Regions from separate parts of the Homo sapiens genome. Here regions 2 and 3 are each linked to region 1. The links are contacts of gene promoters, found by promoter capture Hi-C in blood cells and fetal thymus (Javierre and others, 2016). All regions are on one chromosome and are shown on one strand. The core of a region is centred on a gene start or on the middle of the fragment in contact, and the rest is flanking DNA. Distances in the headings are between cores, read along the strand shown. Region 1 holds the start of EML6 (EMAP like 6). Region 2 overlaps SPTBN1 (spectrin beta, non-erythrocytic 1). Region 3 holds the start of SPTBN1-AS1 (SPTBN1 antisense RNA 1).

Region 1 (4,721 bases), core at 1,082-3,581:
GCTTTACAAATTAACTTTTCACGTATGTATTACTTTGTTTCATTCTTACAATTATCCTGTGGGGTGAGTACTGCTATACTTTATTAAATGAGGAGAGTAAAGATCAGAGGATTTAGTGATTTGCCTAAGGTTACAATTGTAAGTGGCTGACTCAGACTTACTCCTCCAACTCATTTAACAGTCTGGTACAGCATGGGGGTCATTAGTTATACTAAAGATAATTTAGGAAATGAATATGTTCCATCCATTTCTATTTAAGAGACTTCTTTTCAATACATTTGTACATTTTCTCTGGAAAGTGTCTCTTCCTTTCTAGACCACTGCCACTATCTCTAACGCAGCCTCAAGCACTACCCCAGACTTCTAATACCTCATGCTTTGATTACTGCTTTCATTGCTATTCCCTTATTTTTATTCAAAAAATCAATGACTCCATTATTTTAAGGATACAGCGCAAACCCCTATGCTGAGCTCCATCTACAATCTAACCTTTCATGTGTCCTCTTGATCTTATATGAATTCTCCCTTGCACCAAACTGGGTATTCTCTTTAGTGTTCTCTAAATCCACTTTTCTGCATCTACACTTTTGTTTATTCCCTAAACGCATGTAGAACGCTCTTTCAATTTATCTTTACTTATCTCAATTCTATCTATATTTCCTAGTTCCTCCATGAAACTTTTCCTGATGTATTTTATCTGGAAAAACTCTTCCTCTTCTGAATTCTTATATAGAACTTACTGGCCAGGCACAGTGGCTCATGCCTGTAATCCCAGCAATTTGGGAAGCCGAGGCGGGCAGAACACCTGAGGTCGGGAGTTGGAGACCAGCCTGGCCAACAGGGCGAAACCCTGTCTCTACTAAAAATACAAAAATTAGCTGGGCGTGGTGGTGCGTATCTGTAATCCCAGCTACACAGGAGGCTGAGGCAGGATAATCGTTTGAACCCAGGAGGCGGAGGTTGCAGTGAGCCAAGATCACGATATTCTAGCCTGGGCAACGGCCTGTTTTGTCTCAAAACAAAACAAAACAAAAAGAACAACAAAAACTTACTGTCTTTATATAATTCATTTGGCACTGTTTTATGGCACGACATCATTGATCAACTATATTTTTGCTTCTATCTCAAACCTTTCTCAGGCCGTGTTTTTGTTTTTGGCAGTGTTCTTGTTGCCTAGCACAGTGCCATCTCACTTATTTGTTGATTCTGTTTCCTTAAAAACAAAGATGAGACCAATTCAAATCCTCATTACTGCGGGCAGCAACAAATCATCCAAACTCTGGCACTTCCAGTTCTTTCGAGCTTTCCTACCAGGTCGGAGGGTTGTCTTAAAACTTGAGGGAGATGAACTGAGTAAGCGATTACACTGAAAGCATGGGAGGGAAAGGACGTTCCAAACGTCCAATCCATCATCCTTTTGCAGCCTCTTAGTCACTGGGATTTTGAAATCTCTTTCCAAAGACTAGCTATGGCCCTAAATTGGAAATAGGCTACTTGAGAACACAGTGGATTCATAGTTCATCTCGGGCAGTTTTAGGAGAAATGCCACCAGCTTCTGCGTTTGAAGGCCAAGGTTAGCTGTTCATGGCGTGAGCACCTTCCTGCTTCCAACCTCCGGTTATCTGTAAATACCCAAGTCCTCTAATTTAGGACGCAGGTCATGGGAAGACGCTGGTTCTTAGGGCAGAAGTGAGCTCACATTCCCAGCATTTTTCTTAAACTTGGCAGAACTGCACTTTAACAAATTAAAATCCATGTGAATGAAAAGGAAAACTTAAGTAGGAAACAAACTTAAGCTTGAGTCAGTTACAGCATGGTGAGGATGTCGGTTACAGCAACACTCAGAGACCGATGAAGGAGAAATTCCAGTGGTGGGCTGGGAGACCGTCTCCATTCCAACTCCACCGCTTTTCTCTACAGAGACCCACGCACGCCAGCTCCCGCCTCAGTCACAAGGGAACGCCCGCGTGGGCAGGCAATCGTCCTTGGTGAGCCGGGATCTCCTCACCCCGAGAGCCGCAGGCTCCGCTGACGCCGGTACAGGTCTCGCTGCGACTCCCTCTGGGCGCGCGGAATCCTGGGACTTGTGGTCCCTTCCGCGCGCTGTCCGCCCTAACCGGCGCAGAGAGGACTACACTTCCCAGGATGCGTCGGGGGAAGAGGCCACAGGGACAGGCAGAGGGAGGGGGCGGCCCCAGTCCTCCGGGGCGTCGCTGTTTCCAAGCGGCGAGATCTCGCCTAGTAACCGGCAGCTGAGGTTCACTAGCGCGGCGTTGTGGCCCCGCCCCCGGAGCCCCGGCTGGAGGAAGAACCTGTCTCCCGCGGCGCCCCAGTGACGAAGTCCATCCCCGGGTGCGGGAGGCGGGGAGGGGAGGGCAGGCAGAGGATTTCGCTCGCTCGCCCGCGCGGGATCCGGGACGCGCCGGTGGCGTCCGCTGGCAGCAGAGGTTAGAGGCAGAGAGCGCGCGGATGCTCCGCGGGCGAGGCTGGTTCGAGAGTGGGAGGAGTGCAGGGCGCCGCCAGGGCGGCAGTGCGCGCGGGCCGAACAGTCCTGAGGGCGGGCATCCCTCGCGCAGCGCGCCGACCCCCGGGACGTGTGCGTCTGTGGGGGGTTGCTGTCCCCCGGGTCCCTCGGGCGACCCCTCTCCACGCTGGGCTCAGGGCAGGACCCGGGATTCCGTGGGACCCGGTGTTTAGCGCAGAGGTTTCTGGGGAGAAGTACACGATTTTTGCCACTTGTTATTTGATTTCTCCTCGACCAGGAGCGTTTGTAGGTAGCGCACTCCCTCCGACTGCACTAGTGCCTCGTTTCTTCCGAGTAAGACAATCTTTCATGATGCGGATTGGAGTTGCTGATCAATGAGAGCTGCTAAGTTCTTTATGGCTTTCTCGGTGAAGAGAAGGTTCACGGAGGATATGATTATTAAACACACACATGAAAACTAATTGGAGCATCTAAAAAATGACCATTGCATATTCGCCCTCGCTTATTAGGGAAACAGCAAGCGTTCCTTCAAATCGCATCAGCAACTGCCAGGCAGCAGCATTTACGCATATTTCATATCATTAAGGAGATGGAACTGGAGAGAGAAAGCGGGAGTAGGGGACAATTTTTAAAAATACCCAACTTGGTTTAGTTTGGGGATAATTTTCTTGGATTGGGTGACTTATGCGAAAAATCTGTTTCTTTCTTCCTCGCTCTCGCTTCCTGGATATAGACTGTCAATTTCGGATCCAAAGACGGCGATGGCAGAGCTCACCCGGGTTGCCTGTCAAATCAAGGCTATCGCAGAATAAATCCCGCCGCCTGCCGCGAAGCCCCGGCGCACCGCAAACTTCAGTGAGCGAACTGGGTGATCGCTGTTGGGATATGCAGATTCCTGATGTAAAAGGCGGGGTGGCCCCCCCGAGAGCCTCTCCCGGGGGCCGGAGCCCGCAGGTGCAGTGAGGCGCGCGCGCCGGTGCCGGCGCCCCCAGAGCCGCCTTGCCCGGGTAGAGGGAGCCCGGCGCCCGGCGGGGTCTGGCGGCCGCACACCGGCGGCGGCGGCTTGTCTGCGGCGGCTGCAGCGGATGATGGTGGCGGCCGGCCCGCTGGGCTGTGCCTGTGTGTCGCCGCGGAAATCAGCGCCCTGCGCCGCGCGCTGAGCCCCTGCAGGTCCGCCGCAGCCCCAGCCTCGGCGAGGACGGCCCCGGCGCGCGGGGGGGCGGGGGGCGCGCGGGGTCGGCTTATCATGGCGGATCGGACGGCGCCCCGCTGCCAGCTCCGGCTGGAGTGGGTGTACGGGTACCGGGGTCACCAGTGCCGCAACAACCTGTACTACACGGCAGGCAAGGAGGTGGTCTACTTTGTGGCTGGGGTCGGGGTGGTTTACAACACCCGCGAGCACAGCCAAAAATTCTTCCTGGGACACAACGACGACATTATCAGGTAAGGGGGTGGCCAGGGGCGGCGGGGAGGGGTTGCGTGTGGAGGCTGGGAAGGTGGGAAGCGGTTGACCTGGGGTCGGATCCGGGAGCCCCGTGGAATAGAGGATTCTCTCTGGAGCCGCATGGAATTACTGAAGGGCTGCTGATTCTAGGGCCAGGGCAGAAACAGTGTGGGGAGTGTAGGTGAGGAGGGAGAGATGTCTTTTCGCTGTATCCCTCCGGAATTCTGGCTTTTAAATCTCCAAGGAGTTGAGTGTTCTGATGCTTTCTTGCTGTTCTTTCCTGCTACAAGTGGAAGGAGCCTGGGTAACTATGAAACACTTCTTCCTTCCCTAACCAGGTGCACGGTAGGACCAATAACCTGAAGTGTGGGCATCATCTTTGGGAGGCTCCTCAGTGGGTTTCTCAGTAAGCAAGAGGATTAAAAAAGATCTAAAAGAAATTTTACTACTGGTAATTTGGAATCTTCATCTCAGATGCTTTGGACCTGGGAAATTTCTGCAGTGGGTGGGGAGTTTGTTCTCTAATATTTCACTTGGCAGTGTTTTAATGCCCAAAGCATATTTATACACTAAATGGATGCTTCCACAGCATCATTGAGGTTATTAAAGGCTGGCAGCTGCTGGATCACAAAATCCTACCAGCCAGCCCACACAATGACCAACATCTGCTAGCGGATGGCCCAAGACTGACTGACAGGAGAGCTCATTTGGATGAATGGCCGTTTTAGGGGCCCTCCCGATTAAATGGAAAGGGGTTATATTGTGATTCTTGGCCCTATCCTCTCATCTTTG
Region 2 (4,721 bases), core at 1,461-3,960, 200 kb before region 1:
AGAGAGAGAGAGAAAGAAAGAAAGGAAAGAAAGAAAGAAAGAAAGAAATCTGTGGAAAGCAGTTGTTGGTTCAGTGATAGAAAGAGAGATTCGCAGGTGGGGGCAGGGCAGGGGCCAGGCTGGGCTTCTGCAGGAGTCAGGTGCGGTGGATGTTGCAGCGCAGGTATAGCAGCCCTGGGGGTTTCTTCTCATTGGTCAGCAGGTGGCACCAAATAGCTAAAACTTATCTGGGGAGAGGCATGCCTTGCTTGGGTTTTACCTTGGGTTGGGTTGGATTAAATTTTACTTTCTGTACTTTCAGAATTTGGGATTAATAGCACTTTCACATTTTCTCCCTAGAGATAGAATCCTCCAAGTTTGAATTTTATAAAAGTCTCTGATATTGATAATAGTCATGAAAGTTAACTATATTCAAGATCAGATGATTGCATGACATTATTAATTTTCATTTTTTGGAAGGGTTTATGACTTTGAATGTTAAATGCCACTGTAAGATCATTCAATGGAATATACTTACTCGATTAGATTTCTGAAGTTTTTGTGTTTTTATGAAATCCCATAAATAAATTGCTAACGTAGGTGTGAAAATTAATACACCCGTGAATGTACTTAATTGAGATTGAGTATGTCTCTCTGATGAGAATCCAGGATTTTACTTCCATTCAGGATTTTTCTATTAGAGCAGAGATGGGTGACAGTTTGAGTCACAGATGTTGTGGCTCAGTGGTAAAGTGGATTCAGTGCTTCTTCCTCAGGAACATGTGGGGTGTGTTGGCTGTGTTCTTGGATAGCATGTGAGAAAACAGCCATGACAAAAGAGCAGGCAGTTGTGTGCTGGTACCACCCAAGAGCCTACTGTTTATTTAAGGTGCAGTTAATTTGTTTCAGCTTATTTACTATGGAAACTTGGTTGCATGTGGCATGTGTGGTTATGTGCTGGAACTTTTAAAAAGCTGCATTTCAAGCACGATAAATGTTTCTTTTCTACATATATGGGTTTGTTTATTTTTTGTGTGGTGGCATATGTGAGGGGGAAGAATCATCTCTTGAATGATCCTTCTGTGTTGCTGAGTGGTGTCTGGTTTGGTTAGCACGCAGGCTGTGGTGAGGAGGCCTGCTGACTCTGGCCTAGGTGCACATCTTGGTGCACACTGAACAAGGCTTTCACTAAGTGAGCATCCAGCTACAAAAACCTGACAATAAATTTTTGAGTTTTAAGATGTTGATAACAGCCGGGCATGGTGGCTCACGCCTGTAATCCCAGCACTTTGGGAGGCCAAGGTGGGCAGATCACAAGGTCTAGGAGTTCGAGACCAGCCTGGCCAATATAGTGAAACCCCGTCTCTACCAAAAATACAGAAATTAGCTGGGCATGGTGGCTCGCGCCTGTAGTCCCAGCTACTCGGGAGGCTGAGGCAGAAGAATTGCTTGAACCCAGGAGGCGGAGGCTGCAGTGAGCCGAGATGGTGCCACTGCACTCCAGCCTGGGTGACAGAGCGAAACTCCATCTCAAAAAAAAAAATGTTGATAATTTATTTTTTTTCTTGGGATAGCTTCATACCACTTTAAAAGGGGTGTTGTCTTTTCACTCCTTTCTTCCTACATTTGCAGATTAACAACTTACTTAGATAGCTTCATATGCCTGACTGAGCCTGTTTCCCCCCAGTGAAATTTAAAATATGCGGGAATTTAACCACATTTAACCACACCCATAGGCATCAGGCATAGCACTAGCTCAGTTTCTCAATGTCTCGGGTCTAGTCAGTCCTTCACCAGGCCCTGTCAGTTCTCCCTCCAAAGCACATCCACCTCTAAGCACATCCACCTCTTAACCATCCCCGCTTCTCCACCCAGAGCTGCACCGCCATCATTTCTGGAGTAGCCTCCCAAGTGGCCCCTGCTTCCATTATTGCCGCCTAGAATCTGTTTTCCACACAGCCCTGGGAAGAATATTTTACAAATACACTCAAGGGTGGTGTCGGTTATTAGCTTAAAATCCTGCAGTTGCTTCCCGCCACACTTGGGCTCGCCCACCTCCCTCCCTAACCTTGTCTCCGAGTCTCTCCCGCTGCCCACTAGACTCAGCCACATTGAACTTGCCGTTCCTCCTGCATGCTATGCTGCTTCCTTTGCCTGAAACACTATTATTCTTGATCTGTGCGTGACTCATTCCTCTTGACATTGAGTTCTCAGTTTCAGGACCCACTCGAGAGGCCTTCCCTGATCACCAGATCTAAAAATAGTCACATGACTCTGCTGTCATTTTTTTTTATTTAAACTATCTTGCCTTTTCTTGTGTGCTTTTTGTCCAGCTCCTACCACTAGGATATAAGCTTCCCTAGAGCCAGGTCCTTATTGCGTTCATTTTTATCCCTAGCATCTGGTCCAGCACAGAGTACGTAGTAAGTCTTCATTGTATTTTGGTTCAATGAGTGAATAATAGCTATATTGAAGGGAGAAGCTGTGTTTAAAGCTTATCAGTTCAGGATAAAGAATAGCAAGCGTGTATTGAGCATCTACCATGCACTGGTACTGTCCTTGGTTGCCATACACTTACATCTTAATTTTTTTTTTTTATTGGAGTTTTGCTCCTGTTGCCCAGGTTAGAGTGCAATGGTATGATGTCGGCTCAACCAAAACCTCCGGCTCCTCGGTTCAAGCAATTTTCCAGCCTTGGCCTCCCAAGTAGCTGGGATTATAGGCATGCGCCACCACGCCCAGCTAATTTTTTATTTTTAGTAGTGATGGGTTGGTCAGGCTGAACTGGAACTCCCGACCTCAGGTGATCCGCCCGCCTCAGCCTCCCAAAGTGCTGGGATTAGAGGCGTGAGTCACTGTGCCTGGCCTTACATCTTAATCTTAAGCATCAGTTTTCTAATATGTAAGTGAGATGTTTAGATAAAATGATCTGCTAGTTCTCTTATATAACATTTTATGAATTTCCAGGAGAAGCTTAAAGATTATAATTTATGGTGATACACAATGGGAATAAATGAGTTCATTCAGAAGCCCCACGTAGGTGTTGATCTACCTCCGATAACATTTCTTTTTTTTTCTTTTTGAGACGGAGTCTCGCTCTGTTGCCCAGGCAAGAGTGCAATGGCACGATATCGGCTCACTACAACCTCCGCCTCCCAGATTCGAGCAATTCTCCCTGCCTCAGCCACCCAAGTAGCTGGGATTACAGGCATGTGCCACCACGCCCAGCTAATTTTTGTATCTTTGGTAGAGACGGGTTTTCACCATGTTGGCCAGGCTGGCCTCGAACTCCTGACCTCAGGTGATCTGCCCACCTCGGCCTCCTAAAGTGCTGGAATTACAGGCGTGAGCCACTGCACCTGGCCCTCTGATAACATTTTTAAATTGCAGAGTTTAAACTTTAGAAAGAAGGAATAAACCCACCATTTTGGGGGTATCCATCATCTCATTCAGTCCTGTCAACAACCTCTGAAGTATCTTCCCTCTTTAATGGTTGGGGAAACTGAGGCTTAGAGATACTAAGTAACTTGGCTAAGGTCACACATCTATTATGAGACAGTGCTAAAACCTAAAACCAGCATTGCTCCAGAAGACCTATTCTTGGCAAGCACTGTTTTTATTTTCTGCTCACTCTTATCCCAGTTGGTTCCGTGGGGACTGTATACACTTCAGACGTCTAAATGTTTTTCCTTTTCTTTCTCATAGAACTCTAAGAAGGAGCTGATGTGGAGGAGCAGCTGAGACAGTTCAAGATGACGACCACAGTAGCCACAGACTATGACAACATTGAGATCCAGCAGCAGTACAGTGATGTCAACAACCGCTGGGATGTCGACGACTGGGACAATGAGAACAGCTCTGCGCGGCTTTTTGAGCGGTCCCGCATCAAGGCTCTGGCAGGTGAGTCCTTCACACCTGTCACAGAGGCCCAGGATGCCTAAAATCAGGATGCCCCTTAAAATCATCCACCCTGTTCCCATGACGCTGTCATGTTCGAAGGTTGTCTCACTTCTATTTAAATGTGTCCTTGAGAGCCAGCTGACCATTTTATAAGGTAGTCAGTTCCATATTTGGAGAGCTGTCAACTCTAATGGCCAAAATTATTCAGAGCACAGAGTGTTATTTATAGCAATTCAAGAACAGCTGCCCTAAGTTTGTAAGAATTCTTTTATTTTTGACAAATCTTACATTCCAAAATATCAAAGCATACTATTCCTTATACTCAAAAATATACAAATTAACCTGTGTACTTAGTGCCTGTGATACATTAACTGGCCTGACCTGTACCAAGATGGGTTAGTATTACACGCAAGGATTTTACATCTGAAAAGCAAAAGCTGAATCTGGTAAAGGCACATTTAATACAGTAACGAGTAAGTTTGCCATTGGTCCATTAGTTCGTGGAACATGTCCTTACTTTGTGATTTCTCATTCCCTTGTTGCTGGTGAACACCTAGAGCACACTTTCTCCATGGCCCCAGTGAGGGTGAGGAGTGTTTTACCCTAAAATTGCCCTGAAAATCAGGAAAGCGTTCTGTGGCTCTGAAAACTCAGCTGTACTGAATATATGTAAACCAAGTATCAAAACCGAGTTTTTTCAAGGTCCTGCATCTGTACTTTGAGATTTCAAATGAAATTTCAGATGAAGTTTATTCCAAATGATTTTTTTCTAATGTCTTTAATTGTGACAAGTAAATCAAAGTCATGACTTGAGAAGTTAAGTTTACTGTTAATTCTAACTA
Region 3 (4,721 bases), core at 747-3,246, 170 kb before region 1:
ACCAGCCCACAGCACTTTTGATCTGTTCCATCCATATCTTTGAGCCATCTTCCCACTGGCCTTTTCCTACCTATGCCAACTTAGGGCTGAAACCTGTGCACAGAGGACATACTCAGTTGGGCCCTGCCTTGGAACATCTTCCCCTGAGTCTGATAACCCTCATTCACTAGTCTCATCTTCATAGCTTCTTCTTCGTCCTCCTCCTCCTCCTTTCTCGTTATTTTCTAACTCCCTGTAACCCAGCTTTTGCTTTTATTAACCCAGTTGACCTGCTAATTGGCACACCACATGCCTTTTCTCTAAGTTTTATTTTTTAGTTTGTTTGTTTTGCAACACTTAAGACCATCTACCCTCTTTCCTCTTTGAGTCTCTCTCCTTAGATTTTCATTCTGCAACTCCCTGGCATCTCCACTGGTTTTTCTTCTTTCTCCCAAACCCAGGCCTTCCCCAGGGCTCCATGCTTAGCCCCTTGCCTCTTACTTCCTTTCCTAGATTTAACCCCACAACTATCTCAACTCCCACCTCTGCACTCAGGACTGTATCTTCAGTTTTGAGCTCTAGTTCCACATCCCTGACTGCTCCAGACATGTCACCCAGTGGTATTGCAGGTAACTCAGATTCCACCTGTCTAGAAGGAAATGTGCACTTGTCCCCTGCACCCCTCTAGCCAGATGTAAAACCCTGAGAGTCTTCTTTGTCCCTTTCCTTTGATCCTCCCACATACAGTTAGTTACCAAAGTCCTTTGGATTAATTTTTACGTCAGCCCATTCTTTTTCATTTGATTGCTCCTTTGACCTGGACTGTTGCACTAACCACCCAGTTGACCTTGCTGCCTTCATTTCCTCTCCTTTCTGCCCATTCTTACATACCACTTCCAGATTAATCATCTCTAGAGTCCAGCCCACACCCTCTACTCCCCTGGCTCAAAAGTCTCCAGTGGCTCCAGACCAGGCTTAGTTCTAACTTGCTTTTCGGGGCTTTCCTCCCAGCCTGACGGTTCCTTATCCTCCAGCCAAACTGCAGCACTTGCTGGTGCTGTTTCCTGGGCATCCATGCTTTTACTGTGCTGCTTGAGAGGAGGCTTCTCCCTTGTTCCAGCCTGTTGATGTCTACCTGTGTTTCAAGGTTTGATCAAAATGCCAGTCCCTCCTAGAGTTCTTCCCACCTACCTTTCTCCAAAAGGCAGATGTGTCCTCCTTGTCCTCTGAATTCTTAGAGCTGTCCTCCCCTGGCCCTTACTATATTCTTTTGGTACTTTACTGTTTGCACATTTGTCCCATTTCCTTTGGCTAGCAACACTCCTGGTCACTTCTGAATCTTCTAAAACACCTGGCAGTGTGCCTTGCACACATTAAATACTGTAAATACAGAACAGTAAACACTGAAGAAATAAAGAATGAATACCTCTGGCCTTCCTTTACCTCCTCCCCACTTCTGAACTGGAGGTGGTCAGATGGGCCATCAGGGATCTGTCTTATTCTTCCCTGGTCCCATCACACCAAATGGATTCCCATTTCTTACTTCTTATCCCCGTGGGGTTATTAAACCCTTCCCCAGTGTCCAAACCTTTCTAATACTTGCATGTGTTCACTCTGCCTGGTTCATTCAGTGTTGGCTTCACAGGATTGAGTGTGGCTACGTTCGTCCCAGCTCTACTGCCATCATATTATGTGCAACCTGGTTAATTAAAAATTATTTCATGTACTAACCCATACTAGAGGGAGCTGAAAGGGAGATACTGAGTGGTGACTCCCTTTCTTCATTAAGTGGCCCAATGATTAAAACGTTATAAGTTGGCAAAGCACTTTGTAATCTCATTTTCAGTGCCATAGCTGGACACTTAGAGACTTATCATTTCACCAGTATACTTAGTTGTGAAAAAGGGCTTGTTAAAAAGATCTTCATTGAGACGGTTCCCAATTCAACTTCTCTTGTAGTCTTGATGTGGTGTGTGTGTGTGTGTTTGTGTGTGTGGGCGGGGGGTGATGAAAGGAGGGGTGCATTTTGAAGAATATACTCTTAATTTTGAAAGTATGATAATTTTTAGAACATTTCCACATCATCTCCTCAGTGACCCTGTGGAGGTGGGCATTAATTATTACTCAGTCTGACAGCTGAGGTTTAGAAAGAATCCAGGGTTTCTTCTAAGGTCATAGGGTAATTAAGAGGCTTGGCCAGGACTAGCAACTCAGGTCTTGGGAATCCTAGTCAAGTGCTTTTTCCAAGACCAAGTGTTTTGTAATGCTCTGCCTAGCCTCCCATCAGCATTGTGAATTGGCAGCACTTAGGGGCTTTAAAAAATGTTCTACATCTTAGATGATAAGAAATGTTGTCTTCTTCAGGTTGGGCCTGGCTTTCAAAAGCCAAAGGTTGACATGTGGAAGTATTAAAAACCTAGTTATGTGGCTGGAAGGAGTTGGGGGTTGTTCAGCGTTGAGCAGTTAGCTAGGCTCTGGGTTTAATTCTAAGCCTGGACAGGATGCAGTTACTTCAATTACAAGTGCCCTGGGGACTGAGGTGAACCTGGGGTGGGGGACCACGTCTTTACTACATATTGGGATCCCTGAGGAATGAAATTACCTTCTTCAGTGAGTATTGCTGTAGGGCTCCAAACTGGAAATGCCAAAAGTGTAATTTGTTGTCTGCCTGTTTAGGTAGTGAGGAAAAAGGGGGGACAGGAGGGTGGAGAGAGAGGGGGGAGATCTAGAGTCAATTTCCCAAGAATACATTTTGATCATTCTCTTTTCTATGTGGAAGATTTCATTTTTGGTTGAGATTGGTGGGAGAAGAAGCTGGGAAGGAGAGATTTAAAATTTTGGAGAACCACAAGTTTAGAGGCCTTGTTTTACAAATCAGAGTAGGAATTTGAGGGTAGTTTCGGTTCCCTCATCTCCCCTCCGGATCATAAACAACTCCAGGTCAGGGATCTCGGCGGTGTTTACCTGTGTACCTTTTTCCCACAATGCCTTGCAAATCGGTGCTCCCATAAATCTTCCTTGCGTCGAATTCCTATCATAGGCCCGTGTTATTCCAGGAAACCACCGCCTTCATATCCCCTGATGGCAGCGTAAGTCAGCCGAGATTCTTCACTGAGCCCGAACTTACACCTCCCCTGGCTGTGGCGCTGCACAGCGCCCTGAGAGTGACTTTGTCTGACTTCTTCCCGGTGGCTCGCCGGGCCGCCGCCGCGTGGTTGGCGCCAGCGCACTGGGGCAGTCGCGCGCGCCCAGGTGCGGGCCGCGTTACCTCAGCAGACGCTAGAGAGTGAATGAGCCGCGCGGGCCCGGGACCCTTGGGGCTCTTCACTCTCCAGGCCGTCCCGTGGGCGCGCTAGCCTTTTCAAGTGATAGTAATCGGAGACTTTTCCGTTACATGAGGCTCAACAAAAGATTGTAATTCCAGCAGCTCTGTTTGGGAAGGCACTACCGCGGCGAGTCCAGGGCCCGGCCGGGGGTCGGCGGCTGCCGGGCGGCTGGGGCGACCGCGGACCGTGCGGGACCGGTAGGGGGTCGCGGGCCGGCTAGGCTCCCCCGCGCCCCTCCTCGTGGTATAGCCTGCATTTCTAATACAATGCTGTTATGCTAATCAGGTGACATCACCGCCCAGCACACGGCGAGTGGCTCCTGATAAAATTACAAACCGGCGGCCGCCGCGGGCAGCTGGGAGGAGGTGTGCGCGCTGCGCCCGCGAGCTCCCGGGCTCGGCAACCGTGGCATGCTTAGGATTGGCCATATTTAAAAGTTCTGAAGTAGAACCTGCGCCTCCTCTCTGCTTCTCCCTCCTCCTCAGTAATTTATTTCGAGCTTCCAGGCAAGGGCCACGGAAGAAGGGAAAGCAAGAAATTAGATGCCTGTGTGGTAACTCCTCGCGGAGCTAAGGTGGACTCTCTTGCAGCCAACTTCCCATCAGATCACCCTGCTGGACTTGCAGACCGGAATGGGGCTCGCCTAAGGAGCCGAGCGCTGCGGAGGCTGCTGCGTGTTGGATGGGAGTGGGAGGGGGCTGGAGCGAGATTTCCAGGGCGCAGTCCTCCGGGGCGTTACGCCGGGCATAATGGAATTGCAGAGGACGTCTAGTATCTCCGGGCCGCTGTCGCCGGCGTACACGGGGCAGGTGCCTTACAACTACAACCAGCTGGAAGGCAGATTCAAGCAGCTGCAAGGTAAGCCCCCTCCCAAAGGCCGGGCCTGTCCTGGGTGCCAACGGGGGTTCTTGGAGGCTTTATTTGTGACCCTAATGAAGACGGGCGGCTTCACAGCTCGGCCCCAGACCCTGTGGTTGGCTGCGGGCACCCCATTCACGACTTAGGGAAGGCAGTTGCTCATACTCCACTCCAGAAGAGCTACCATTTGGAGTCCCTGTCTCTCCAGCACCTTTTTGGCTTTCTAGGTTGTCAGATAACTGCTGCACACACATTTTCTTTACTTTTAGCTAACTTTACCTCCTAGTAGATCAGTGCTCATAGACTTATTAGTATGCAGGTATTTGATTCCGGGTCGCCTCTGGCTCCCAGCCCCCAGCCTCTTACCTCTGGGAAGCTTTAAAGGTGTAAAGTGCCGTGCTCAGACCCAGTCCTGTAGAACAATAGCAAAGGGGAGGAGGGAGGGGTCTTTTTGTTCCTAAGCCTTTGGTAAATTACAGTTTTTTATTCAGAAGCTTAATTTTAATTTTTCTGATGTGTTGGGAAGAGCCTTCCCATCTATTTAGTGGGCTATATAAT

What was found. The method cuts DNA at HindIII sites, captures the fragments that hold promoters and counts their contacts. A CHiCAGO score of 5 or more calls a contact.
Region 2: a fragment that was not itself captured here is called in contact with the fragment with the promoter of EML6 in region 1 in 1 of 17 cell types (monocytes); the score reaches 5.4 in monocytes.
Region 3: a fragment that was not itself captured here is called in contact with the fragment with the promoter of EML6 in region 1 in 1 of 17 cell types (fetal thymus); the score reaches 5.3 in fetal thymus.

What each region holds. Positions count from the first base shown.
Region 1 is chr2:54,721,331-54,726,051 of GRCh38, forward strand. EML6 (EMAP like 6) reads left to right here and starts at 2,332. Exons shown (of 42, transcript NM_001039753.4): 1 at 2,332-2,447; 2 at 3,219-3,928. The coding sequence starts at 3,732. RefSeq lists an enhancer at 1,865-2,084 and silencers at 2,225-2,714, 3,386-3,535. The HindIII fragment of the contact is 5,681 bases long and covers 1,795-4,721 here.
Region 2 is chr2:54,522,688-54,527,408 of GRCh38, forward strand. SPTBN1 (spectrin beta, non-erythrocytic 1) reads left to right here. Exons shown (of 36, transcript NM_003128.3): 2 at 3,685-3,879. The coding sequence starts at 3,732. The region is part of intron 3 of SPTBN1-AS1 (SPTBN1 antisense RNA 1); the gene reads right to left. Among named protein-coding and RNA genes, the nearest start is that of SPTBN1-AS1, 34 kb to the right of the region's middle. RefSeq lists an enhancer at 2,033-2,202. The HindIII fragment of the contact is 479 bases long and covers 2,472-2,950 here.
Region 3 is chr2:54,554,725-54,559,445 of GRCh38, forward strand. All of the region lies in intron 2 of SPTBN1 (spectrin beta, non-erythrocytic 1), which reads left to right. SPTBN1-AS1 (SPTBN1 antisense RNA 1) reads right to left here and starts at 3,981. Exons shown (of 4, transcript NR_185881.1): 1 at 2,944-3,981. RefSeq lists a silencer at 3,379-3,518. The HindIII fragment of the contact is 5,081 bases long and covers 1-4,537 here.